Regions from separate parts of the Homo sapiens genome. Here all the other regions are linked to region 7. The links are contacts of gene promoters, found by promoter capture Hi-C in blood cells and fetal thymus (Javierre and others, 2016). All regions are on one chromosome and are shown on one strand. The core of a region is centred on a gene start or on the middle of the fragment in contact, and the rest is flanking DNA. Distances in the headings are between cores, read along the strand shown. Region 1 overlaps MRPL22 (mitochondrial ribosomal protein L22). Region 2 overlaps MRPL22 (mitochondrial ribosomal protein L22). Region 3 has its middle 28 kb from the start of KIF4B. Region 4 overlaps FAM114A2 (family with sequence similarity 114 member A2). Region 5 overlaps GEMIN5 (gem nuclear organelle associated protein 5). Region 6 overlaps FAM114A2 (family with sequence similarity 114 member A2). Region 7 holds the start of HAND1 (heart and neural crest derivatives expressed 1).

Evidence for each region. The method cuts DNA at HindIII sites, captures the fragments that hold promoters and counts their contacts. A CHiCAGO score of 5 or more calls a contact.
Region 1: a contact is called between a fragment that was not itself captured here and the fragment with the promoter of HAND1 in region 7, in 4 of 17 cell types (neutrophils, activated CD4 T cells, total B cells and 1 more). The highest score is 9.0, in neutrophils.
Region 2: a contact is called between a fragment that was not itself captured here and the fragment with the promoter of HAND1 in region 7, in 1 of 17 cell types (naive B cells). The highest score is 5.6, in naive B cells.
Region 3: a fragment that was not itself captured here is called in contact with the fragment with the promoter of HAND1 in region 7 in 3 of 17 cell types (neutrophils, monocytes and non-activated CD4 T cells); the score reaches 8.4 in neutrophils.
Region 4: a fragment that was not itself captured here is called in contact with the fragment with the promoter of HAND1 in region 7 in 9 of 17 cell types (megakaryocytes, neutrophils, activated CD4 T cells and 6 more); the score reaches 7.0 in megakaryocytes.
Region 5: a fragment that was not itself captured here is called in contact with the fragment with the promoter of HAND1 in region 7 in 4 of 17 cell types (neutrophils, activated CD4 T cells, total B cells and 1 more); the score reaches 6.3 in neutrophils.
Region 6: a fragment that was not itself captured here is called in contact with the fragment with the promoter of HAND1 in region 7 in 7 of 17 cell types (total B cells, activated CD4 T cells, megakaryocytes and 4 more); the score reaches 10.6 in total B cells.

What each region holds. Positions count from the first base shown.
Region 1 is chr5:154,965,041-154,968,943 of GRCh38, reverse strand. It overlaps MRPL22 (mitochondrial ribosomal protein L22), which reads right to left. Exons shown (of 7, transcript NM_014180.4): 7 at 1-2,258. The coding sequence ends at 2,047. Among named protein-coding and RNA genes, the nearest start is that of MRPL22, 26 kb to the right of the region's middle. The HindIII fragment of the contact is 3,432 bases long and covers 371-3,802 here.
Region 2 is chr5:154,941,709-154,945,225 of GRCh38, reverse strand. The region is part of intron 2 of MRPL22 (mitochondrial ribosomal protein L22); the gene reads right to left. Among named protein-coding and RNA genes, the nearest start is that of MRPL22, 2.4 kb to the right of the region's middle. The HindIII fragment of the contact is 2,390 bases long and covers 800-3,189 here.
Region 3 is chr5:154,983,512-154,987,258 of GRCh38, reverse strand. No RefSeq gene overlaps it. Among named protein-coding and RNA genes, the nearest start is that of KIF4B, 28 kb to the left of the region's middle. The HindIII fragment of the contact is 769 bases long and covers 1,425-2,193 here.
Region 4 is chr5:153,993,521-153,997,276 of GRCh38, reverse strand. It overlaps FAM114A2 (family with sequence similarity 114 member A2), which reads left to right. Exons shown (of 14, transcript NM_018691.4): 13 at 2,305-2,358. Among named protein-coding and RNA genes, the nearest start is that of FAM114A2, 44 kb to the left of the region's middle. The HindIII fragment of the contact is 4,597 bases long and covers 1-3,756 here.
Region 5 is chr5:154,917,107-154,920,948 of GRCh38, reverse strand. It overlaps GEMIN5 (gem nuclear organelle associated protein 5), which reads left to right. Exons shown (of 28, transcript NM_015465.5): 11 at 846-982; 12 at 2,945-3,018; 13 at 3,770-3,842. Among named protein-coding and RNA genes, the nearest start is that of GEMIN5, 19 kb to the left of the region's middle. The HindIII fragment of the contact is 1,651 bases long and covers 928-2,578 here.
Region 6 is chr5:154,025,700-154,029,568 of GRCh38, reverse strand. It overlaps FAM114A2 (family with sequence similarity 114 member A2), which reads left to right. Exons shown (of 14, transcript NM_018691.4): 5 at 1-80; 6 at 1,286-1,420; 7 at 2,235-2,393; 8 at 3,047-3,170. Among named protein-coding and RNA genes, the nearest start is that of FAM114A2, 11 kb to the left of the region's middle. The HindIII fragment of the contact is 1,248 bases long and covers 910-2,157 here.
Region 7 is chr5:154,476,562-154,479,966 of GRCh38, reverse strand. HAND1 (heart and neural crest derivatives expressed 1) reads left to right here and starts at 1,740. Exons shown (of 2, transcript NM_004821.3): 1 at 1,740-2,501. The coding sequence starts at 1,959. RefSeq lists enhancers at 1-292, 3,066-3,405. The HindIII fragment of the contact is 6,833 bases long and covers 1-3,405 here.

The DNA of each region.
Region 1 (3,903 bases), core at 837-3,336, 490 kb before region 7:
TAGTACCAGATACAGTCAGTGACACAGGTTAGCTATTATTACTTTTTGTAACGTACTGGAAGCAGTTCCAAATGAAGGCTTAACCTGGGAAGGAAATTTTCTTCATTACAATCCTACTTTTTCCTTACCACTTTCAAAATAGCTTTTACAGCCTGACTGAAGCAGTGCCTTCACTTACATAATTTATATTTATGATGTCCATGGCACCACCTGGCTTTAGTCACACCCAAGGAAGTCACAACTCCAAGAGCAATCGTGGAGCATCCCCACCACATGAGAGCACAGTGACCTGGTGTGATAATTCTCCAACATGCAAATCACTGGGGCATTTATTAAAACTGCAGGTTCCATGGTCTCCCACACCAAAGCTTCTGATTCACTTAGTCTGAGAGTAGAGCCCAGGAATTTGCATTTTTAAACAAATTCTTCAAGTGATTCTAAAAAAGGTTTTCTACAGAGAACATTGAGTCTCTTGTTTCATAAATGAATGAAATGGAGGCCAGCAAGGGAAGAGACCTATCCAGTCTTCTTTCTGGCTAATGAGAATGCACAGACTAGAATGAAGGTTACCTTTTAATATTCCAGTGTTATTTCCCTGACTCCATGCTACAACAGCTTAGGACCCAGAATGAATCTGTCCTACACCTTGGTTTATTCCACTGACCCCTGATGTCTTTTTACCCATGCATTAGGTTAACTGGAGAGACACAAAAACCCAGCTGTATACTCAAAAGGTATGCAGAACCAGCTACTTTAGAAACCTTTCAATCATAGCCCCAATATTTACATGCTGTGTGACTTGTGATAGTTATTTGAATTCTGTGTGCTTCGGTTTATTCCTTTGTAAAGTGGTAAAACAAAAGCTACATTTTCAGGATGTTGTGAAGAATTATGTAAAATACTAGCACAGAGCTTGCAAATAACAAGTTCCCAGTAAACAGTAACTATTATTAATGCCATCTTAAAACATGGCAATAAAACTACATTTTTTCATTCTCCTAAAGCCGTATTCTCAAAGCGTAGTCCCCTACAACAGAATTACCTGGAAGTGTTTGTTTAAAACATAGATTTCTGAAACCAGCCCCCCATAAGACCTAGTGAATTGAATCATTGGGGTGGGGCCCAGAAGTCTGCATTAACAAGCAAGCATCCTCGATTCTTCTTTTGCATGCAAAAGTTGGACTAGGGCTGTAGACAAAGAGTACTTCTTCTTAATGAAGACGTGTATGAATGAGAGGGAAGCAGTGTTGAACACTCTAATTTGAAACTAACAATTTTCTGCTAATAAAAGGTTGAGTGCCACCTACTGCCCCATTTTAGAATGCAATGCTGAGATTGGTTCAATTCCTCTCTCAGTAATTGAATTTACCCTGAAAAATAAATCAATCCTAAACAAGATATCCAAACAATATAAAGCACTGTTGGAAGAAGAAATAAAAACAGGCTTTGCTTAACCAAAAGAAAATTTTCAAAGTTAAAGGTTTTTGGAGTTTTAGATTCGTATATCTAATAAACTCCTGTAGTTTCGAGTTACTGCTAAAACAGTAAAGGAAAATATAATTTTTGACTCACTGGCCTGTGCCAACAGTGAAAGGAAAAACGGTACCACTGAACACCCTAAAATACTGTAATGAAACAACATGCAGCCACTCTAACTTCCCATGGTCCCAAGAGAAAATTAAGTGAAATAAAAGCAATTTTCTTACCTCATAACACTGTATTCAAGTCCAGTATCAAAACAGCCACCTGCAGGACACTAGTTGGAAAGTTAACATTCCCTTTCAAAGTTACTCCAAAAGCCTTTTGAAATATAGTCTGTTACTATGTTTAAAGCTGATTTCCCCTTCCAAGTCGCAAATGCATACAAATATGCCCAGAGGCTCAAAAGAAATGGGCAAAGCCTTATAAATATTCATTTACAACTAGCAGTTATACACTGTTTCAATAATTCAATGAGAAATCATAAAAAGCATTTGCCTTCAATTTTTGTTTATTTTTAGAAAATAAATGGCAAAATATATACACTGTGGAGTCTGAATCTCCTCATCATAGAGTGTGAACGATGGTCCGGCTGCGAAGCTGCTGAATATACTCTTTGGCATGGGCAACTGCCGTCTTTGGTGGCTCAGGTGGAGGTGGGGGCCCTTCCACCAACTTCACAAAATAATGGCAATAAACCTTCTCCATGATCCCAAAGCGACCTCTGCCATGGTAGCGGATGCGTTTCAGGCACTGGCCTCGTCCTGAGGTGGACTCAGCTAAACAGGAAGAAAAAGAGAATTACAGGAAATGAGTGTTATCCACAAGCCTGATCAGCTGAGCAATTTCTGTCCTTTCCTTGACTGGATTCTGAGATTACATGGGCTCACTGGTTGGCTAGAGCAGGCTTGTCTCAAAACAACTATCTCCTGAATGCTAACTAAGGACCAGGCACTATTCTAGTGTTGGAGAAGTAAGAGTGCACAAGACTGGCAAGGCCCCTGCCTCCAAGCAGTTTACATTCTGGAGAAGAAAGACGTAAAATAAAATGATAATTTCAGCTAGTGACAAGTGCTGTGAATAAATCAGAATGAGATGACAGACAATGATGGGGTGTAAGGGACTTCAGACTGGGAGTGTCAAGAGGCATCCCTGAGAAAGAGACATTTGATCTAAGAGCAGAATGAATCATCTATTTGAATATCTAGGGACAGGGTATTCCAGGCAGAGGAAACAGCAAGTGCAAAGGCCCAATGGTGGGAATGCACTCGGCTTGTTTTAGGAAAAGAAAGAAGACTACCATGCTGAAGCATAGTAAGCAAGGGGAAGAGAAGCACAAACAAGGAAAAGAGATTAGAGATAAAGCTAGGGCAAGATTACACAAGGTCCTGTAGGCTCAGGCAAGGAGTTTTTTATTTTATTCTAATTGTGATGAGAAGCCACTGGAGTCAATGGCTCCCAAATGCTGGTTCTCTGACAAGCTACATCAGACTAACCTAGGGAATGTAATTAAAATGCAGATGCTGAGACCTCACCTCTGTGGATTCTAATTCAGTATATCTGGGGTGGGCCTTGGAAATTACATCCTGGGCAAACACCCGTACCCCAACTCTCCCCAGAAATTCTGACTGACAGCCAGTTTTAGGAACTCTGGCACAACGGCCCCTTCAGCTCCCCTCCCCCATTCTGTATATCAAAATTTGACCTTGAAAGTGTAAAGAAATCTTTTAAATAGCATGTAAGGGCCAGGCGCGGTGGCTCACACCTGTAATCTCAGCACTTTGGGAGGCCAAGGCGGGCGGATCACCACAAGGTCAGGAGTTTAACCTTGGCCAACATAGTGAAACCCCATCTCCATTAAAAATACAAAAAATTAGCCAGTTGTGGTGGTGGGCACCTGTAATCCTAGCTACTTGGGAGGCTGAGGCAAGAGAATCGCTTGAACCCGAGAGGCAGAGGTTGCAGCGAGCCAAGATCCACCACTGCACACCAGCCCGGGTGACAGTGCAAGACTCCATCTCAAAAAAAAAAAAAAAATAGTACATAAGAAGAACTGTTCACCTGTTCACCCACAATAAGTCAGAGTAGTAGCCATCTACCTTCTACTATTTTCTGAATGTATTTAGTCAGCTACTTGTTTAGTTAATAAGCCTTTTAAAAAGGTAAAATCTACAGAATACATATCAAATTATCCATTTCAACACTCATCATTCTTATACACTTACTGTGACATACTTTATAAATATAGGGACTATACCAAAGTATGCACTTGACAACTCTCTAACTACGATATCCTCTAGTGAAGTGGGTTTCAGCAGAAGCTTCCTAGCTTTGCCAAAGAGAAAGCCAAGAATGAAAGTGAAAACTGCCTAGGGTCTAAGTGAGATAGGGAAAGACCTACTGCCCTTTTATTAACTTCATTTA
Region 2 (3,517 bases), core at 745-3,244, 470 kb before region 7:
TCACTTACCTTCACGGCCACCCTAATCCAAGCCACCATGATCTCATACCTGAAATAGCCAACGGTCTCTGCTTCCATCCTTGCTCCCCATCCCCACCCCAGTCTATTCTCAACACAGCAGCCAGAAAGAACCACTCATAAACATAAGTCAGATCATATAACTCCATGCTCAAAACCTTACAACAGTTTCCCATCTTGCTCAGAATAAAAGCCAAAGTATTTACAAAAAATAATAAGGCTCTATATGATTTATGACTGCCCCTTCCTCTCTGACCTCATCTCCTATCACTATCCCTCTCCTTTTTGTCATTGTTCCTGACACCAGATATGGTTCCTTGGAGCTGTTGCACTTACTATTCTATCTGCACAGAATGCTGTTTGTTCAGATGTTAGCACAGCATGCTTCCTCATTTCCTTCAAATCTTTACTCAAAGATTATCTTTTAGTGAGGCCTTCCCTATCTAAAACTACAAGTTCCTCTCTCAAACACACATACTTCTTATTCTCAATCTCTGCTTTATTTTCTCATAAGCAGATGTCACTATCTAATATACTCTATATTTTACTTATTTTGCTTATTTGCCCCCCTTACTATATTGTACACCCCACAATGGCAAGGGATTATTGTCTGTTCCTGTTCCCTGCAAAATCCTCAGTGCTAGAATAGTTCCCAGCTCAGAGCAGGCACTAAATACATATTTGTAGAATCAATGAAAGAATACAGAGACAGGTAAGGTAAGAGGACTGAGTGTAAATAACTATGCCAAAATTTTACACATGGTTGGAAACTGAGGAAAGCTTAAGAGGATATGCCCCCATCTAAAGGGTGGTACAGACAGGCTTGGTGGCTCACGTCTGTAATCCCAGAGACTCGGGAGCCTGAGGTGGGAAGATCACTTGAGCCCAAGAGTGCGAGACCAGCCTGTACAACATAGTGAGACTCTGTCTCCTAAAAAAAAATATTTTTTTGGCTGGGCGTGGTGGCTCATGCCTGTAATCCCAGCACTTTGGGAGGCCAAAGCGGGCGGATCGTTTGAGCCTAGGAGTTTGAGACCAGCTTGGCCAACATGGTGAAACCCCATCTCTACTAAAAATACAAAACTTAGCCAGGTATGGCGGCCTGCACCTGTAGTCCCAGAAAATATTTTGTTTAGATCCTCACTTTGACATTTAACTGTGTAACCTTCAGTAAGTCACAAAACTTCTCAAATGTATGCATCAGTAAAATAGGAGACTTGGAATTCAAAAACTGAAAACTGTCAGTCAGCTAACAAATATAGCCTACAGAGTAATCCCAGCACTTTGGGAGACTGAGGTGGGAGATTACTTAAGCCCAGGAGTTTCAGACCAGCCGGGCAATATAACAGGACTTTGTCTCTACTAAAACTCAAAAAAAAGTCAGGTGTAGTAGTGCACGCCTGTGATCCCAGCTGCTTGGGAGGCTGAGTTGGGAAGATGGCTTGAATCGAGGCTGCAGTGAGCTATGATCATGATACCGCACTCCAGCCTGGGTGACACAGCAAAACGCTGTCTTTAAAAAAAAAAAAATTTTAATATCTATATATATATGTGTGTGTATATACATGTATGTATGTGTATATATGTATATATATGTGTATATATGTATATATGTGCATATATGTGTGTATATATATATATATCCTGCAGAAATGTTTTATTTGGTCAGCAGCAGTTTTCTTAACCTAATTCAATGTTTTTAGATGAGGAATACACTCTACTGACCACCACAGGCCCTCCCACTCTCATTTTACATAGACAACTTCCCTTAGTTTATTTATTTCTAGTCTGGGGCCTATATGCAATTAAGTTTCCTGGCGGCTCATGCCTGTAATCCCTCCAGGCCAAGGCAGGAGGATCACTTGAGCCCAGGAGTTAGAGACCAGCCTGAGCAACACAGCAAGACCCTAAAAATTAGCCAGGTGTGATGGCATGCACCTGTAGTTCTAGCTACTTAGGAAGCTGAGGTGGGAGCCCGGGAGTTTGAGGCTGCAGTGAGCTATGATCACAGCACTGCACTTCAGCCTAGGCACAGAGCGAGACCGTGTCTCCAAAAAAAAAAGGAAAAAAAAGTTTCTCATCACTGAATCAGATTATATGCTAAAATTTTACATGGTTATCATGAACATTATTTATACCTTTCTACTTAGTTTTCTTATGGTCATTTTCCCCACTAGAAAATCCAAAATAAGGATTCACAAAATTATGTAATAACTTCAGAATTGCAAATAGCCTTAGAGATTATCTAGCAAAATCAAACACTCTTGTATCATGACATAGAGGAAAAGACTAAAGGCAAACTGCTTAAGTTTCTTGCTCAGAGCTTCTTAATACAAGTTGGTGCAAGACAATTCAAATCAACATCAAAATACTTGCCTGTGTAAGACCTTATGCTGGAGGTACAACAATAAATAAATGTCCCTACTTCTCCAAGATACACAAGCTAGTAAAGGGCACATACACATATACATGAAGTCATCATAGAAGGCACACATGCTAAAAGGAAGGAAAAACTAATTTCTTTCCGTTTTAGAGAAACCAGTGAAAACTTCCTGAAGGGAAAACATCTGAACAGAGGTTTGAATAATGGGTAGGACTGCTGTTATAGACAAGATGTGAGGGCATAGTAGGAAAAGCCAAGAAGCAAGTAAGTGCAAAGTATATTCAGAAAAAGTAAGTAAATCAGCATGGTTGGGGGAAGAGTGATAGAAGATTATCTAAGAAGAGTACAGACAAATCCTAAGAGCTACTACTTCCTATTTTCTTCTTTAGCCCACCTCTTTATCCCCCTCGGACCCAAAAACTTAGAAAAGGGTTAAATATAATTGGGAACTCAGTAATAATTTATAATAATAAAAACATTAATGGCAACTAGAATTCAGAGTGGGATTATCACATGCCATAAACATACTAAATACTTCATATGCATTATCTTGTTTGAATTTCCTTTTTAAAATCTACTAGAGCTACATAGATGGCATGTGCCTGTAATCCCAGTACTTCAGGAGGCTGAGGCAAGAGAATTGTTTCAGCCCTTAAGTTTGAGACCAGCATGGGCAACATAGCAACACTTCATCTAAAAAAATAAATAAATAAAAATTAAAAAATTTTTTAAATCCTAAGAGATAGGTACTAACATAACGCTCATATCATAAAAGTGATAACTGAAGCTTATTAAGAATAAGTAACTTTTCCAAGATCACAGTTAAAAAATGGATTCATATACAACTCATCTGTCTGCAAAGCCTATGAACTAAACCAAAATCAATGCTAACAAATGGACAGACCAGAAAATTTACAATCAGATTATCAATTTTCAAATACCGATTTTTTATTTTGGGGAGAAATACAGCGACTACTTACCCTAACCTTTAATGAATGCTTTTGTCCTAAGGCTACAGAATGCTCTGGTATAAAGCTTCAAAATTTCCTACAACTGAGTGGCCTTAGGCAAGTTATTTTACGTTTGGGGACTTCAATTTCCTTGTCTGAAAAACGGG
Region 3 (3,747 bases), core at 560-3,059, 510 kb before region 7:
CTCAAAAAAAAAATCTAGCCTCAAGATTCTGATGCCACATAAATGCAGCGTAATATGACATGAAGAATCAGACCTGGTCATTAGGAACTCCATAAAGGTTTTTCAGAAGAATCCCTCTGAGTTTCTTAAGTCTGTATTTAATACAAAGCTTGTGCTAGGAATGGCAGAAGGTTTCATCTCATGTGCCAGCTTTGTTCAAATGTCCAAATCACTGTGTTAAGAAAGTGTCTGAGGCCTAATTATAACAGTCACAGTTATAGCATGGAGCAAATGTATTACAATTGTCTGATTTTTTGTCCTCTGCCGGCTCTCCCACCTCACTTAGGTCATGTTTGTCTCTTTCATCTGGGCTGCCTCATCTTAACTTAGTATCAGGCTTCTAGGGATGTGCATAAAGGTTAACTCTGGAATCAAAGAGACCTGTGTTTGAATCTTAGCTCCATCATTTACCACCTGTATGACCTTGGAGAAGTTACCAAGCCTCTCTGGTCCTGTTTTCTCATCTCAAAAATAGGGGATAATAATATGCCTACCTCGTAGGATTGTTGTGTGAATTAAATAAGACAATATGTGCAAAGCACTGAGCACAGTGCCTGATATCACTAAGAGTTCAATCAGTGGGCTATTAATATATACGTCCCACAATGCCTAGCACTCTGTCACTCACATAGTATGGTCTCAATAACTGTTTCTTAGCAGTTATCTCAAGATCCCGAGAATGAGTGATCTCTTGTTTTTTGTTGTATTTTGTTCAATGCTAGTTAGTATTTATTGAGCACATGCTATGTTCTAGGCACTGTTCCAAGTGTTGTATGTGTATTAATTTATTTATTCCTCTACAATCCAATCGTTCCATTGGTGGAGAGAAAAGAAATGCTTATTCAGGCAGTCTGGCTCCCACACATCTGCCCTCTTGACCACTGTTTTCACTGTCTCTGCCAAGAAGCAGCTGTCACTTCTTTTGCAATAAGAAAGACAAAATGAAACAATTTTTTAAAATTAGCTGTGCATGTTGACATGCACTTTTAGTCCCAGCTGCTTGAGAGACTGAGACCGGAGGATCCCTTGAGCCCGAGAAGTCAAGATGAGGCCCCTGCACTCCAGCCTGGGTGATAAAGTGAGACCCTGTCTCTTAAAATTTTATTTAAAAGTCAGATTTTAAACATGTATTTGTTGAACAATGGTCAACTCCTATGTGAATCTCTAAGAACCTCAAGATTGAGAGATTGACATTCGCTTTCATTCAAAAATTTTTATGGAGAGCAGAAGTGTAAGGCATTGGGCAAGATGCTATCGGAAATATAAGAAACAGAGGAAATACTGTCTTCTCCTCAAGAGCCTATAGATGTGGAAGGTGAATTATTATTGTGAATAGCTGACAGTCATTTAGGGCTTATATGTTCCCAGTCACTGTGCTAAAAGCTTTACCTACATTATCTCATTTAATCCTCATAGCGAATGGATTAGAACAGTGCAATCGATATCCCCATTGTGTGAATGAGGAAACCAAAGCCTTCAAACGTTCATGACTTGCTTGGGATTCCAAGAAGGAACATTTGTATAGGCTAAATGGCACGTGGCTGCCACAGGCAACAATTCCATCCATCTTTCTTTTCCCCACTGTGTCTTGAAGAGCAGGGAACTTGAGAGGTATCTGAAATCCTCCTGGTGAAATGAATACCGACTTTGTAATATACTCCCCTCACTAAATATCAGTGCATTTATCAGACACTAAATTTTAAATGCAGGCACCTGCAGAGCTAGTGAGTTCTAAAGAATCCCACTCCCTAAGTTTCTGGGCTTCTTCTTACCTCTCTTCCACTAGCGTCTCTTTTTCCACCTTCAGCACTTGGACATACGGCTACATAGAGAGGAAACTGTCTCCCTGCTTTTGCTTGCTAGTTCCCAATTTCAAGATGTTGTATTACACCTGATTTATGGCCTGACAGGGCTCATTCTAGTCCACAACCCTGAGCTTGCAGAATGCACAGGGGAAAATTTACTAACGATTTCGTTCATCTTAATGCACTGTAGGGAATTTTTTAAGTGAAAAAGGCTCAATAAGCAGGGACATTTTAAACAGCCAATTATGAATAACAATCGCTTGTTGACTGAGTGCAGTAGATCTTCCAGCTCATTCGGTTTTCATCTAATTAAATCTTTCATTTCCACGGGCAGCCTGCCATACAAGCTTGTGTTTGCCTTTGTCAGCAGGAGATAATCAATAGGAGAAATGTAGATGCATTTCAGCATTTATTAGCAGCTCAATTGGAAATTGTTTTATTTTAATAATATCCTTCTCTTCGTTCTGTTCAGGGTAAATCGACAGCTTTGATGAATAATAGACAACAGAAAATTGGTTTATATTATCCCACTGAGAAGCAAAGAAATCAGAGAATGAAAGAAAGCTCAGAGAGAAATTGAAAAACACTTTAAAACTGAATTTTCTTTGTTACAAAAAAAGGAAAAACAAACAAAAATGCTTTCCATTCACTCTAAAAGATTATTAAAACTACTTGAATTCAGCTAGCTATACCTACCAAGAAAAAGACAATAAATTCTTACTTTCTGAAGCTTTTCACCACTTTTACTTGCATCTGACATTTAATTATTCTTCATTAATTTCCACAGGAGTGAGAACAACATGGATTAGAAAGACAAGAACCTGGTGCAAAATGCTATTTGTTCACCAGAAATGAACTCAAATACCCAAATGTTCACATCCTCAAATAGTGGACACACTGGTAGGAGTAGGAAGTCTTAAGAACAAACATGGGAGGTCCACTATGATGAGTTAGGTATTTATTTTTATTTTATTTTAGAGACAGGGTCTCACTCTGTCACCCAGGCTGGACTGCAGTGGTGCCATCTCAGCTCACTGTAGCCTCAACCTCCTGGACTCAAGCAATCCTCCCACCTCAGCCTCTTGAGTAGCTAGGACTACAGGCATATGCCACCATGCCTGGCTAATTTCTATATTTTTTGTAGAGATGATGATTTGCCATGCTGCCCAGGCTATCCTCAAACTCCTGGGCTCAAGTGATCTGTCAGCCTTAGCCTCCCAAAGTGTTGGGATTACAGGCATGAGCTGGCCATGATGAGTTATTCATAAGAGTTCTCTGCACACCTTCATTGATGGAATTCAAACTGACTAGAAGACTTTTCTTCTGAAATCCTGGCTGAAATATCCAACTGTGACTATCAGGCATCTCAAATTTAATATCTAAAAATGTTAATGTTTTATCACAATGAGGTACCACTTTACATGCGTTAGGATGATGATTAAAGAAAAACAAAATTCTAAGTGTTGGCAAGAAGGTGGAGAAAATAGAACACTTGTGCACTGCTAGTGGGAATATAAAATGGTACAACACTGTGGAAAATGGTGTGGTGATTCCTCAAAAAAGTAAATGTAGAGGCATAGATGGTCAAAGGGTACAAAGTTTCAGCTTGACAGGAAGAATAAGTTTTTGAGATCTATTGCACACCATGGTGACTATAGTTAATAATAATGCAATGCATATTTTTTAATTGCTAAGTGAGTGGGTTTTAAATGTTTATACCACACATACACACAAAAATAAGTATGTGAGATGATGGATGTGTAAATTAGCTTGATTTAATCATCCCATAAGGTACACATATAAGAAAACATCACGTTGTGCTGCATAAGTATATACAATTATTATCTGTCAATTTTTTTTTCTGAGACGCAGTCTTGCTCTGTCACCAGGCTGGAGTGCAGTG
Region 4 (3,756 bases), core at 337-2,836, 480 kb after region 7:
TTCCATTTCTCTTGGGTAGATAGCTAGGAGTGGAATTGCTGGGTCATATGGGTGATATGGGTCATTAAGGAATTACCAAACTGTTTTCCAAATTGGCTGCACAGTTTTACATTCTCACCAGCAGTGTGTAAGGGTTCCAGTTTCTTCGTATCCTTGCTAATACTTATTGTTTGTTTTTATTTTAGCCATCCTAGTGGGTATGAAATAGTATCTCATTGTGGTTTTGATTTACATTTCCCTAATGTACATCTTTTTTTCTTTCTTTCTTTTTTTTTTTTTTTTTTTAAGTTTTGCTCTTGTCACCCAGGCTGGAGTGCAATGGCATGATCTCAGCTCACTACAACCTCTGCCTCCTGGGTCCAAGTGATTCTTCTGCCTCTGCCTCCCAAGTAGCTGGGATTACAGGCACCTGCCACCATGCCCAGCCAATTTTTGTATTTTTAGTAGAGACAGGGTTTCACCATGTTGGCCAAGCTGGTCTCGAACTCCCGACCTTAGGTGATCCACCTGCGTTGGCCTCCCAAAGTGCTGGGAGTACAGGCATGAGCCACCGTGCCCAGCGCCAATGTTGAACATCTTTTAATGTGCTGGTTGGCTATTTGTCTGGCTTCTCTGGAGAAATATCTATTTCAGCAGTTTACTTGTTTTAAAACTTGGGTTGTTTGTGTTTTTATTATTACTTGTAGGAGATTTTTTTTTTTTTTTTTAATTTTCCTAGTACAAGTTTCTTATCAGATTTTTGATGGGAACGTATTTCTCCAAGTCCATGAGTTGTCATTTCGCTTTTTGATCGTGTCCTTTGCAGTGAAATTTTACTCCTCTGTTTTCTTCTAAAAGTTTGGTTGTAGCCCTTACATTTATGTCTGTGATCCATTTTGAGTTAATTTTTGTGTATGGTGTAAGGTAGGGGGCCCTGCTTCATGCTTTTGCATATGGATATCCGTTTGTTCCAGTACTATGTGTTGAAAAGACTGTTCTTTCCTCCGTTAAATTCTCTTGGCTTCTTTGTTGATAATCAGTTGGCCATAGATATATGGGTTTGTTTCTGGACTCTGATTTTTAGTCCATTAATTTGTATGTTTATCCAAATGCCAGTGTCATATCGTCTTGATATTGTAGTTTTGTAGTAGGTTTGGAATCAAGAAGTGTAAGTCCTCCAACTTTGTTCTTATTTTCAAGATTTTTTGACTGCTTGGGGCCTTGTGCATTTTCATATGACTTTTAGGATCAGCTTGTCTATGTCTAATTCTAATTAATTTTTGTTTTCTTCTGTTTATGAAGTTTTCAGTATTTTTTATGCTATCTTCTGAGACCTATAATGGAAATATAGACCTTGATAAAATTCAAACTTCAGATTTTGACTCTGGTTTTAAAGAGCAACTCTGTACTTAGACTATGGCAGTGCTCACAGTATGCAGTTGCCAGCCGGTGGGAGAGAAGTAGTTAAAGCTAAAGTCTTTTGGGGATTTTAAAAATTGGAATTGTAAAAATTTATGAAGATGTGTGAGCTATGGAAGATGATTGAGAAACCAGTAATAATGAGTTGGGATAAAATCAAGAGCATTTTAAACAAGCAAATGAAAATTACTTTATAGTAAGTATATCAGTGTCAGTGTAGCAGCAAAATTACTGTGGGTTCTTAAATTTTATTTATTTATTTATTTTAAAGCCCTAGTCATGAACATTACATTTGTTTTAATTAAGACCATGGCCTAAGTTAATTTTTTAAAATTTGAGTTTAGATTATTCCTGTAAAGGATAATCTTTTGGTACAGCTTCACTTTTCCCTGTAGTATTTTCTTGACAAAAGGATCTGGGTTTCCTGAAGTTAATCTTACAAGGCCAAATCTTTCTGTGTGTTCCATAAAGATACTTTAAGCCAGCATATCAACTATAAGATGCTGACACATACAAGTATTAAATTTACATTATTTATTTGTAAGATTTTTCTAAACAGCTTGTGTTAAAGACCCTTGAGTTTTTTGAGCACATGTTCCATATCTACATGTTTTGTTTTAAAATGGTTCTAAGGTTTTGTGGTCAAATGAAGATACTTTTTAAAGTCAATAAAAAGGTATAAAACAATACACTGTCAATATGGATAGCACAGAAAGATATTAAGAAAGAAGTTTAAAACACTTAGAATTTCCATTCTAAAGATGACATTTTGCTCTCAGTCCAGACTTCTGTGCTTATATTTAATATTTATGTATGGGTGTGTGTGTGTGTTTTAAAGTGTGATCGTACTCCACTTACTGTTATTTAACCTACTCTGCTCACTTAAAAATGTATTCGTTATTCCAGGTCAAAGAAATGGCAGATGTCCTTAACCCATTAATCACTGCAGTATTTCTAGAGGTTAGTAATTGTTTTTAAGTCTCTGACTCCAAAGGTATTACGTATAATTAACTCTTCTGAAGCCTTTTGCTTTTGGCTTTTTTATTTTATTCACCATATTGGTAGTTTAGCCATATTGATGTAGATATGACAGAAATAGTGTATATTTGATGTGTATTCCTTCCTTATTAATTAGAAAGCATACAGTTGAAGCTGCAGGGTACTGGAAGAAGCAGTAGATTGTCATTACTTAGTACTAATCCTTGACAGCTTAATGGACGGTTCACAGTAATGAAACACCTTCTGAATACCAGCTGGTAAACATGAAGGGCTGAAAATTATAAACAGGTAAGCACTGCTTCCTAATTTAGGACTAAAGTTTATGCAGAGGTTTGTTACAAAACAAAACATGTTGTCATTTCCTTGCCAGGAAATCATGCTTTGTTTTGTCAGAAAGGTAGTGTTTACATTATCCTCATCATTCCATTAGATTTGAGAAGGTAGATGGTTTAAGTCAATGGAAAAGAGGATCCTGTGACTGATTATATTACCTCCCTATGTGATGTTTTCTGGATTCCATGTTTTAAGAACTCTACCTTGTAAACTAACTGTGCAGACAACATAGACTTTTTGATGATTTGTTTAAAACATGTTTATGTAAGTCTGGGGGGAGAAAATATATTTGATAGTTAAGTTTTAGATGTTAATTGAAAAAATGTTTTAACTACCAAACTCTTACTTCTCTAGTTTTAAATTCTTTTGACATTACCATCAAGGAAATGATTTTAATTCTTTAATTACACAGTTTTAATCAAGTAGTCAGGGAAACTATTTTGATCATTGTAATAATTTTTAAAAATATAAGTTTGTGATTTAGTAAATGGCAGAGTGGTGCAGTAGAAAAGACTTTGTAAACCAGGAGCCCCGTGTTGCCCTGGATCTTCCTTGATTTGTTGTGTGACTCTGACAAACTTCGTTATTTTCATGTGCAACATAAGAGATTTAACTAGACGATATCTGAGGTCCCTTTTGTGTGGGAAATTGAGTATTAAATGTCACACTGAATTTTAAATAGTACTTGCCATTGATAAATTTTAAAAAGGTAATATCACTTGATATGGGCTCCCTATTATTTTTAGTGGATTTTTTTTTTGGATACAGATTTGAAACACTCTTGTCTTCGAAATTATACATTTTTATCTTAATGAGCTCTCTGTTGATATTCTTTTGAAAGGTGAGGGCTTTTCAGTATAAATGAAGTCCAGCAAACTGAGGGTAATGATTCTCTAACACTTCTGAAAAATGTTGTTCAAGATAGAAATATATCTATACTGTCATCTTTGAAAGCAGTATATGTGTGAAAGATGTTTATGTGTGTGAGCAGTTATTGTGCTCACTGATCGCATTGAGTCCATGGAA
Region 5 (3,842 bases), core at 504-3,003, 440 kb before region 7:
GAAAAGCAAACTTAGAGTTTCTGAAATGATCTCTTGCCTTTGATTCAGCATTCTGCTCCTTTCCCTCTTCTAGCCCCTCAGCCTTGTCTTTCTTTTTCTTATTCCTAAAGTAATGAGTCTTTTCTATTAGCTTTTTACATAAGTGTATTCATCAAAAGTCTCTGATAAACTTTTCTTAACCATCTATGATGAAACATCTGTAAATTTCTATAGGAATTGCATTACATAGAGAGGATAAGTAGATTTATCAGAACTCAAGTAGCATTGGAATTTGTAGTTCATTTATGCAACAAATGTTTACTGGGTATTTGATTTGTGATCTACCAGTGGTAAAAGTAAAACTTGCTCTTATAGAAACCCACCAGAATTACTGTTTGCTTCTTAAAAATTAACAAGAAGATTGCTGTGATACTAAGGAAATCACTGCTTTGATGACATCTCTTTGTTATAAGACATAGAAAGTCCTACTGTGCTATGTAATTCCCAAAGAGTACTCATTTCTGGAAGAAAAAGCAAATTCTCAGAAGCTTTTGAGAACATATATGTTTGTTTTCTGATCCCAGCTTTTGGACCCCTATTATTATGAATACCAGAAGACTGTTTAAAGCAAATATGTTACATCACATAAATTAACCTAGAATTATAGTAGTATAGTTTTTTTACTTCTGCTCCCAACAACTGTGTTCAGGTGGAAAGAACAGTGATTTTATTCCAATGTATTAGAATGTTTCAAATATATAGTTCTTTTAAAACAACTATGTAGTATGGTATGGTCATACTATAGCAACAAATAGTTAAGCTGATGAAGTACAAAACTGATAAGTTTCTTTTCTTATTTCATACAGGAGGAGAAGGAGACAGACCTTCCCTTGCTTTATACAGCTGTGGAGGAGAAGGGATTGTCTTACAGCATAATCCCTGGAAGCTTAGTGGAGAAGCCTTTGACATCAACAAACTCATCAGGGACACCAATTCAATCAAAGTGAGTTCTTGTGGTCCTGAAGTATTTTCTTTTTACATCACAGATCCCTCTGTGTTTCCCATCTTGCAAAATAAATGCTGTTATTGGAGATTACCATCATCATACTAAGTCAGATTTCTTAAATGTTCTTATAAGGCTGTGCATGAATTTGTGAGTTATATATCTTAGGAGTCTTTATCCTCGAATAAAACAAAGAGGTACTTCTCAGACAGTGAGTATGAGGCAAAAAAATAAAAAAGCCAAAAAAGAACTACTGAAAAAAAGGTCTGTCTCAATTGCAACAATGATTTATTATAAACTTTCAGGTGTTATGTATAAAGCATCCTTTTCAGGCCAACCACTTTCACCAAAGTGATGCTGTGGTAAAAATAACAATAATATAGTATCCAAATGCAACTGCATGGTGTTTTACTCAAGACAAAATTGTCATTTTGTTTTTAATTTTCTAGTAAAATGATTCTAGATTTACACGAAGCTACAAAAATAATACACATAATTTGCTTATATCCTTTACCCAGATTCCCACATTTAATTACATTTGTGTTCTCATGCTATCAGTATGTGCCAGAACTGTCTTTTTAAAGTCATACCTTAAATGTTGAGATTTCCTTATTTCCTTACCCTTTTTTGTGTGTGTGACAGAGTCTCACTCTGTCACTCAGGCTGGAGTGCAGTGGCGTGATCTTGGCTTACTGCAACCTCCGGCCTCCTAGGTTCATGAGATTCTCCTGCCTCAGCCTCCCAAGTATCTGGGACTGCAGGCATGGGCCACCATGCCCAGCTAATTTTTGTATTTTTTAAGTAGAGATGGGGTTTCACCATGTTGGCCAGGCTGGTTTTGAACTTCTGAGCTCAAGTGATCCACCTGCTTTGGCCTCCTTACCCTTTCAAATGAGTATTTTTATTTATTTACTTATTTATTTTTTGAGACAGAGCCTTGTTCTGTCGCCCAGGCTGGAGTGCGGTGGTGCGATCTCAGCTCACTGCAGCCTCCACCTCCTGGAATCAAGTGATTCTCATGTCTCAGCCACCTGAGTAGCTGGGATTACAGGCACGTGCCAAGACTGGCTAATTTTTGTGTCTTTAGTAGAGACAGGGTTTCACCATGTTGGCCAGGCTGTGATCTCGGACTCCTGGCCTCAAGTGATCCACCCCACTTGGCCTCCCAAAGTACTGATTATAGGCATGAGCCACCATGCCCAGCCCAAATGAGCATTTTTATATTATTGCTCATTACTTTTATGGCTAGTATAAAAGTAACATTTAGTTATAAATTGGGTTATATTGTTGATTATATTCCCTCATTGTCTTTAATTTTATCTAAACATTAACATTCAGCAATGAATAAGAGACAAAATTCGTGTTCCTAAGTCTCTTCTAATTTATTGGCACTTGAATGTGTGGATCAGAGGTTCATGCTAGGAGTCTGAGCTGGATATAGAAATTTTGAATCCCTTCACAATAAAGATAGTTGAAGAAGCTGTGGACATGTATGAGGTGGGTTAAAGAGACAATTAACAAGAGAAGAGGGCCCAGGCAGCCTTGGGGAATACCAGCATATAGATATGGGAGGGAAATGATTCAGGGAAAGAAGCTTTGAAGGGATAGAAAACAAGGAGAGTGTATATAGTTTTCTTTAAGGCCTCATGGTCCCCACATTGTCCAAGCTGATGGGCACAGATCAGTTTAATTAAGTATATATTTCACAAGGTTAAGCACTGTAAACATTTAGTACTTATTGGCCTTGGGGGTTTTTTTGTTTTGTTTTTTTGGCCCAGTTAGGAAATGAGAATTAGAATGCATGTTCTTAGTAATCCTTTTACTAATTATGTAGATTATTTACAAGAATAGCTGTTGTATAATTAAAACGTTTTTAAACTCTAGGGATTTTTTTTTCTCATGCTGTCATTGCTGATTTGTGAGATATGTATATAGTCAAGATTGGTTTGTTTTGCTTTCTAGTACAAATTGCCTGTACACACAGAGATAAGTTGGAAAGCAGATGGCAAAATCATGGCTCTTGGCAATGAAGATGGGTATGTATTTGCTTCTTTAAGATAAAAAATTTGCAATCGCACATATATTTGATCACAAGCTGACTAATGCCATCTGTAATGTTAGCTGGGGCGGCCCAGTTGTATTTGGTATTTTGATTTATTCTTGATATCCTCCGCTGATCCAGTAGTGCCTTGTGTCTTTGAGAACTACAGAATTATTTAGATATTTTCAGCCCATTGAGAGTATTTGGCTACACTGTATTTTGGCTGTCTTGTCCCTCACAAAATGGTCACCTCCTATGTTGAACTGCATAAATCTCCATTTTTTTAAAGTAAGCCTAGTCAGAAATGCTTTTTAGGTCTGTATCCTGACCAGTGTTAATCATAGTAACACAGTCATAATTCAGCCATTGATCTGTTAATTATTTTAGCTTCTCCCTATCATCATTTGTCATTAATGCCTGATGAACACAATTTTATCAAGCATTGTTAGAATGCTAGGAGATTGTTACACTGAGGTAGTGTGGAAAGTTAAAATTTCTAAAAATTAATTTTTTTAAGAAAAGAATTGTTAGGATATTGCTAGAATTTTTAAAAGCTAAATATACTTTTTGGAGAATAACTTTTTATACTTGATTTTTTATGAGAGAATGACCTTTGCAGTGATAGAAAGGGTTATCCTTTTCCACCTCATCTTTCCTTGACTGACGGAATGAGGGAGCTACTATTTGCATTGTAACTTGTAATTTGATCATCCATCTTTCTTGTTTTGATGTGTTTCTTATTCCAGATCAATAGAAATATTTCAGATTCCCAACCTGAAACTGATCTGTACTATCCAACAGCATCACAAGCTTGTGAAT
Region 6 (3,869 bases), core at 284-2,783, 450 kb after region 7:
CCAAAGAGAATGAAAACTCCTCCCCAGTGGCTGGGGCATTTGGTGTATTCTCTACCATCTCTACTGCTGTTCAGAGCACAGTAAGTAAAAAAGTGCAAGGTGGTCTGTTCCTTTCCATTATTATAATGGGTTTGCATATCTTTCTCTCTCTTTTCTTTGAACAGCCATGTGGACTGATTACTTTTAAAGGAGTCCAAGCCACTGAAGATCGGTCACTTTGGTCTTATGGGTGGAGTGAATGCTACTTGAAAACTTTCATTAAAGCAATAAGGAAGAAAGTAGGAAATAAAGGAGTAGCAATAAATAAGGGAGTAGGAGTTACAGAGAGGCAATATACGTATTATTTTATGGATTAGGAATTCTTAATTTGGTGGCCCTAAAAAATGTCTACTTTACAAAAATATTTTTCTCATAGTTGCATCTTTTAGGCAAAGGGGAAATGTGATCTTTATGACAGATATTTGCAAAACTATGTATGATTAAAAACATTTGTAAGAGGATTATCTAGGAAGCTAAATATCTTTGCTACATGAGGATAGATAGCTAGTTTTTTTTAAATTTTAACTTTTTATTGAAATATACATACAGAAGAATGTAACAAGTGTTGTTTGAATTTTCAGTGTGAAACACCCAGAGTAAGAAACAGTATTACCGTAATCAGATCTCCCCACCATCTTGTGTCCTCTCCCAGTTTTCTGTGTCTTCTGCTCTCCCCCTCTCCTGCACCAAGATAACCATAATCCTGACTTCCACCATCATAGGTTAATTTTGCCTGCATTTCAGCTTTACATAAGTGGAATCATATATAGTATCTAACTTCTTTCATGCAACATTATATTTGTATAATTTACCTATGCTGCAGTTTGTGTGGTAGATTTGATTTTCTTTGTTGTATTTCATTGTGAAGCTTTGTCACGTTTTATTTATTCATTCCACAGTTGGTGAGCATTGGGGTAGTTTTCAGTTTGTAGCTATTACAAGCAGAGCTGTTATGAACATTTTTGTGCATGTCTTCTGATGAACCTCTGTACTTATTTCTGTTAGGATGTAACCATGAGTGGAATTTCTGGGTCATGCAGCTGGAGTAGATATTGACAAACAGTTTTCTAATGTGGTTATACCTATTTACGTTCCCACAAGCAGTGTGTGATTGTTTCATTTGCTTTACATTCTTGCCAGTGCTTGGTATTGTTAGCCACTATTTTTATATAATAAATACATAATAAAAATGCATAAAAATATGTTTTCTTAATATTGTTGTAATGAGGTTGCATGTATTTTCTAGGGAAAGAGTGTTATAAGTGGGGGTTTGGATGCCTTAGAATTCATTGGAAAAAAGACAATGGATGTGATAGCAGAAGGGGATCCTGGATTTAAAAGAACCAAGGGTCTGATGAACCGAAATGCTACACTATCTCAGGTACTGATTATCCTTACCTGTTTACTTCCTGTTTCTGTTTTGATCTGTATTTTTGCCTTTGTTTACTTGGAACCTTGTTAGTGTTTTCTTTTCAAGCATTTTCAATAATGTTTATTCAGGCGTTTTTTTGGGGGGATCAGGGATGGGTGAGAGCTCTACTGCTTACAAAAATACCCAGCTCTTTTTCTCCTCCTCTTTCTGCAGGAGCCTCCCATCAGTGCAGTGCAAAATGCTAAACCCTGTCAGGGTTTTTTGTTTGTTTGTTTGTTTGTTTTAATGTTTAAATCACTTTCAGAGAAACACCTGGTTCCTTGGGTGTGATTTGCACTGTCTAGGATCAAATTATGTGGTCAGGCACGGTGGCTCACGGCTGTAATACCAGCACTTTGGGAGGCCGAGGTAGGTGAATCAGTTGAGGTCAGGAGTACAAGATCAACCTGACCAACATGATGAAACCCCGTCTCTTCTAAAAATACCAAAATTAGCTGGACGTGGTGGCGTATGCCTATAATCCCAGCTACTTGGGAGGCTGAAACACGAGAATAGCTTAAACCCGAGAGGCAGAGGTTGCAGTGAGCAGAGATCGTGCCACTGCACTCCAGCCTGGGTGACAGAGTGAAACTCCGTCTCAAATTATGTGTGATCGTTTTTCTTTCTGCAGCTCCTGAGCCCACCAGATTTGAATAGCAGTGCCAAGAATGAAAGGGCAATCCTCTGTACTCTAACCTGTCTAAGCTTTGCTTCCTTCAATTCTCAGAACTCACCCTTGAGCTCTCATTGTTTGCTACAGTGTAATGCCTCCATCTCTTTTTAGGTTTTACGAGAGGCGAAGGAGAAAGAAGAGATACGGACCTCCAATGAGGTTACCGTGGAAACAGACAAGAAAACTCATTATGGGCTACTCTTTGATGAATTTCAAGGCCTTTCACATCTAGAAGCTCTGGAGATGCTTTCCCAAGAAAGTGAAATAAAGGTAATTCCAAGCCAAAATCTCAACTGGAAAAAGTCTTCAAGTAAAAGAATGCTGCATGGTTTCCTTTCTCTTTGTACATTTGGAAGATGAAGTGTATGTTTTGTTAGAGGCTTGAGATGCCTTCGAAATACTACCACAAAATAAATTTAAAAACTAATGTTTGATTGAACTAATTGCTAAAAGCAGAATTAGTCAAGTATTATTTCTTTAAATTTAAACAAAAAAGGTTAACAAAGAGGTCTTAATAGGACATGTGTTATTTTTCCTTCGTTTTGGTCTTTTTTTTTTTTTTTTAGTTTCTTTGGCCTAGGCTGCCAAGAAACCTGTTGACTTGAGCTGCCAATTTGTGTACAGTTACCTGTTAGCTTTTAATTGATTTAAGATTATCTAATTTTTTTGTTATTTCTAAGCTGTTGCTAAACACTGATAATTTCCAGGAATTTCTGGCTGGTATTACTTTTAGAAGCACAGAGTCTCCCTACCTTTCTGTCATAACCAGCCTCTTGTGTTAAGGTTCTTAAGGAATAACTTGTGCTGGCTGATGAGCTCATAATTTTGACTTCAATATGATCTTTTTATAGTCTCTTCCCTATTTGTGAATGTTTTTCTTTTCTTTCATACTCCTACAACATTTTGTTCTTGTATCCATTCAGGTGAAATCTATCCTTAATTCTCTGAGTGGAGAAGAATTAGAGACTCTAAAAGTTGAATTAGAGCAACTCAAAGAAACATTTTCTCTAGCAGAATTTTGTGAAGAAGAGGAAGAAGAGAAAAAAGGTAATATGAAAATTTAGTATCTGAGTGGAGAGGATGCAGTGTGTTTGTATGCAGTGCATTGCCCTTGAAATAAATTATTTACTCTTATTACACTGGCTTGATTTTACTTTTTTGGTGAAAATTTTTATGCAAATTCTCTGTGTAAAATTCTCTGCAGCCTTGCACCTGACTAGGCATTGATGGGGGCAGTTGGCCTTATGCCCATGTCTCCCTGCCTCCTTCCAACCAAACCCTTTGTGGCTTCTCAAGGTCTAATCTTGCAACTCACATCTTTGCCTATTTTTGCAGTTAGAAAGCTGTTCTCATCAGATTCTTGCCTCAGTTTGACTGGTCATTCATATGAGCTTTCATATTCCTAGGTACTTTACCTCTGCCTCTCTGACTCTTGTAACCCCTGATTCTGTCTTGAATTGAAGCATGCAGGATGGCAGTTATCTAAAATGTGGGTGATAGTTTGTCTTTTTTTATTTTGAAAACTCTTATACCATATTTTAATATCTTCATTTCTCAGAAAATGTAAATGTAGATACTATGTATATTTGCAAAATTATCAGGAAATGAGATGGGTCAGGAAATGAGATGGCTGACGTAAAGTATAATTGCCAGGCAACTGAATATTAAGTTCTAAGGGTTGTTTTATTGACATTTTAGCTGGAAATATTTCTAAGATATACACTAACTGACCTTTTTTTTTTAAAA
Region 7 (3,405 bases), core at 491-2,990:
TTGTCTCCGTCACTCCTGTATGTAACCCCCCACCCTTCATTCACTCTCTTGTCCAGGAGTGGAATTCCACTCATCCACTCCCTACCGGACCTCGAGAAAATCGCTCTTCTTCTCTGGGCTTCACGTTCCATATCTGTTCAAGGAGAGAATGGGCCTTTCTCCCTCTGTCTTTGGACTAGTAACTATGATAGGCACATAGTAGGCATCAATAAATAATTGTTGAATGAATGGGTGAATGATTTGCCTTCTAAAAAGAGCACTCACATTAACTTCTCCTTTCCCCCTCCCCTCGACTTTGCTTTGAAGAGAGGCACACTCCCTCTACCACACCGAGGGAGGGGGCGTTGAGCTGAGAAAGGTTGAGAGAATGAGGGACCCAGGTAGGTGGACATCGGCCAAGAAAGGAACCACAGCGGGAGGTAAGACCGAGAGTCCCCAGCTTGAAGCGTCACCACTCCGGGATTCCCAGATTCCAACGCGAGCCTGGGGAAAGCCCACAGTGGAGAGAGTCCGGCTGGCAGGGAATGGCCCTACCCCCGGGGTGAAATCTCGGAGGGTCGTGCAGCCGAGTCGCGCCTCTGCGCTGATGCGTGAGAGATGCCGGACGTCGCGTTTGCCTGTGCGAGCCTCGCGGATGCTGTGCAGTCTTGGTCCCCTCTGCGTGTGTCTAACGCCGAATGCTGGTGTCTCGAGGTGTGAGCTTCGGGGCCGGTGTCTTTAAAGAACCAAAGATTCTTAAGGAGTGATGATCTGGGTAGAGCGGCCCGACGTAGCCGCGCTCCCAGGTCTCGGTGCGAGTCCTGCGGACAGACCAGAGGAGACCTGCTGGCCAGATGCCCCGGGCCCAAGGCGGACGCCAGACTGTCTCTGCGCCAGCCGGGCTGGCCTTCGGAATGGATCAGGCACCCGGGAGGCCGGAGTGGATCTCAGACCCTCAAGCCGGGAACAAACCCGTCGATGCCCGTGGGCCTGGAGTCCGCCTCCTCCTTCCCGCCCCACCCCTACCCCTGCCTCCGAAAGGCTTCTTCGCTGGTCAGTAGCTGCGTGCCCGTCTGCCTGAGGCTGGGTCAGAATTGGCGGGCTGGTAACGACCCCGTGCACAAGCGGCTCCCAGTCTCTCCAGAAAGGGCCGATGACTAAGGGGTGGGGGTGGGGGCGGAGGGCTGGAAGGTGTTAGGGAAGAACGTTAGCGGCCTATCCTGTCTTCAGCAGCGCCCTCTCATCTTCTAGCTCTGACGCCGAGCAGAGCAGTTGGAGCTCGGGACTGGGAACTGCTGGAATTCCTATTTAGACTTCTAGACAGTCTAGAAACAAGAACCTTTCTTTCCCTGGGCCTCAGTTTCCTTGTCTGTAAAATCAAAAGGCGGGCTCTAGGTGTAGGCCTTCTTTTCGCTTGGTGATTCTGGATTCCTTTCCTTGGATCCGTGGGGAGGGGGTGGCAGCAACAGTCCAGGGCGTTGGCCGTCCTGTGCCTCAAGTACGTAGTCCCCGTGCCCGCCCCCTCAACACCCCCAGCAGCCCGCCCCCCTAAGCCCGCAGAGCAGGGAGCTGAGTGGGAGGGGCAGAGGCGGGGCCGGTTCCCAGTCCCTGCTGGCGGACTAGAGTGGCGCGGGCTGAGCGTAAAACCTGGGATAGCCACTCCCCCTTTTCCTTATCCCCGCCCCCCTGCCATTGGCTCCCGGGAGAGGTTGACATCAAAGCCGCGGTCTTATATAAGCCAGATCCGCAGGGGAGTCCGCAGAAGGGTTAAACAGGTCTTTGGGCTTCGGCGACCTCGCCCGCGGCAGAAACCGGTAAGAAGACAGTGGGCTGCGCGTCTCATTTTCAGCCTTGCCCGGACTCTCCCAAAGCCGGCGCCCAGTAGTGGCTCCAGAGCCCACAGGTGGCCCCCGGCAGTCTCTGGGGCGCATGGAGCGGCGTTAATAGGGCTGGCGGCGCAGGCCAGTAGCCGCTCCAACATGAACCTCGTGGGCAGCTACGCACACCATCACCACCATCACCACCCGCACCCTGCGCACCCCATGCTCCACGAACCCTTCCTCTTCGGTCCGGCCTCGCGCTGTCATCAGGAAAGGCCCTACTTCCAGAGCTGGCTGCTGAGCCCGGCTGACGCTGCCCCGGACTTCCCTGCGGGCGGGCCGCCGCCCGCGGCCGCTGCAGCCGCCACCGCCTATGGTCCTGACGCCAGGCCTGGGCAGAGCCCCGGGCGGCTGGAGGCGCTTGGCGGCCGTCTTGGCCGGCGGAAAGGCTCAGGACCCAAGAAGGAGCGGAGACGCACTGAGAGCATTAACAGCGCATTCGCGGAGTTGCGCGAGTGCATCCCCAACGTGCCGGCCGACACCAAGCTCTCCAAGATCAAGACTCTGCGCCTAGCCACCAGCTACATCGCCTACCTGATGGACGTGCTGGCCAAGGATGCACAGTCTGGCGATCCCGAGGCCTTCAAGGCTGAACTCAAGAAGGCGGATGGCGGCCGTGAGAGCAAGCGGAAAAGGGAGCTGGTGAGTCCTGGGGCTTGCATGCTCCAGCCAAGGGTGCAGGAGCGGTGAGCAGCCTCAGGCCATGCAGGTAGTCGAAGGAGGCTGTGTTGTCCTGTGTCCGATTTGGAAAGGTTGGGAAGAGTTCTGAGATGGTTGGTCACAGCGTGCGATCCTGTGCATGGAGGGAGGCAGATTCGTCATAGAATTCATTTGTAATACGGGAGAGTGTTTGTAATACTGAGTGAATAATCTGTTTGGAGCCTCGGACCCTCCAAAAATGCACACACCACAGGTTTTGCTTCCAATTTGGAGAAGTCCTGATTCATTCCTGGGCTCTCCTGGAAGCCAGGTTAAGAATATGTGTTAAAGTTCTTTACTTTGAGTTTGAATTTATGTGCCCGGGCTCGGTTCCTGTTTTCAAAGGGCCTTTGCTGGACCGGCTAGTCTACTTCCATCATTGTATAAATAGGGAAACTGAGGGCCCAGAGTGGGTCGGGGCAGGAAAAGCACCTATCTGAGGAGTCCAGGGTGGAGGTGAGGTAAAACAGATCGGGTCTTCTACTCAGTCCAGGGCCAGTTCTGGTTCTCCCCATGGACTGGTTCTGAGGACGACTTCAGTGGCTTTGCATGTAAATAAGAGCCACTTCTTTTAGCTTTGGAGAGCGCAGTCTCGTCTTGGCCTTCTTGATCCTCTCCGGTTAGGGTGACACTTCCTGGCACTCGGTCTGGCTGTCCGGGGCTGGGGGCTTCTGAGCGCTGGGTTTTCAGGCTGGCCAATCAGTTTCTCTAGGTTGGGGGGCTTAAGGCCGTAGCGGAGTGGAGCCAGCTGAAGCGCCCCACCTGGTTTATCCAACCTGCGGGGGCCTGTGGTAAACTGACGAAAGCTCATCCAGGGACGAGGGAAAGATAAATAGGCATCGAGTCT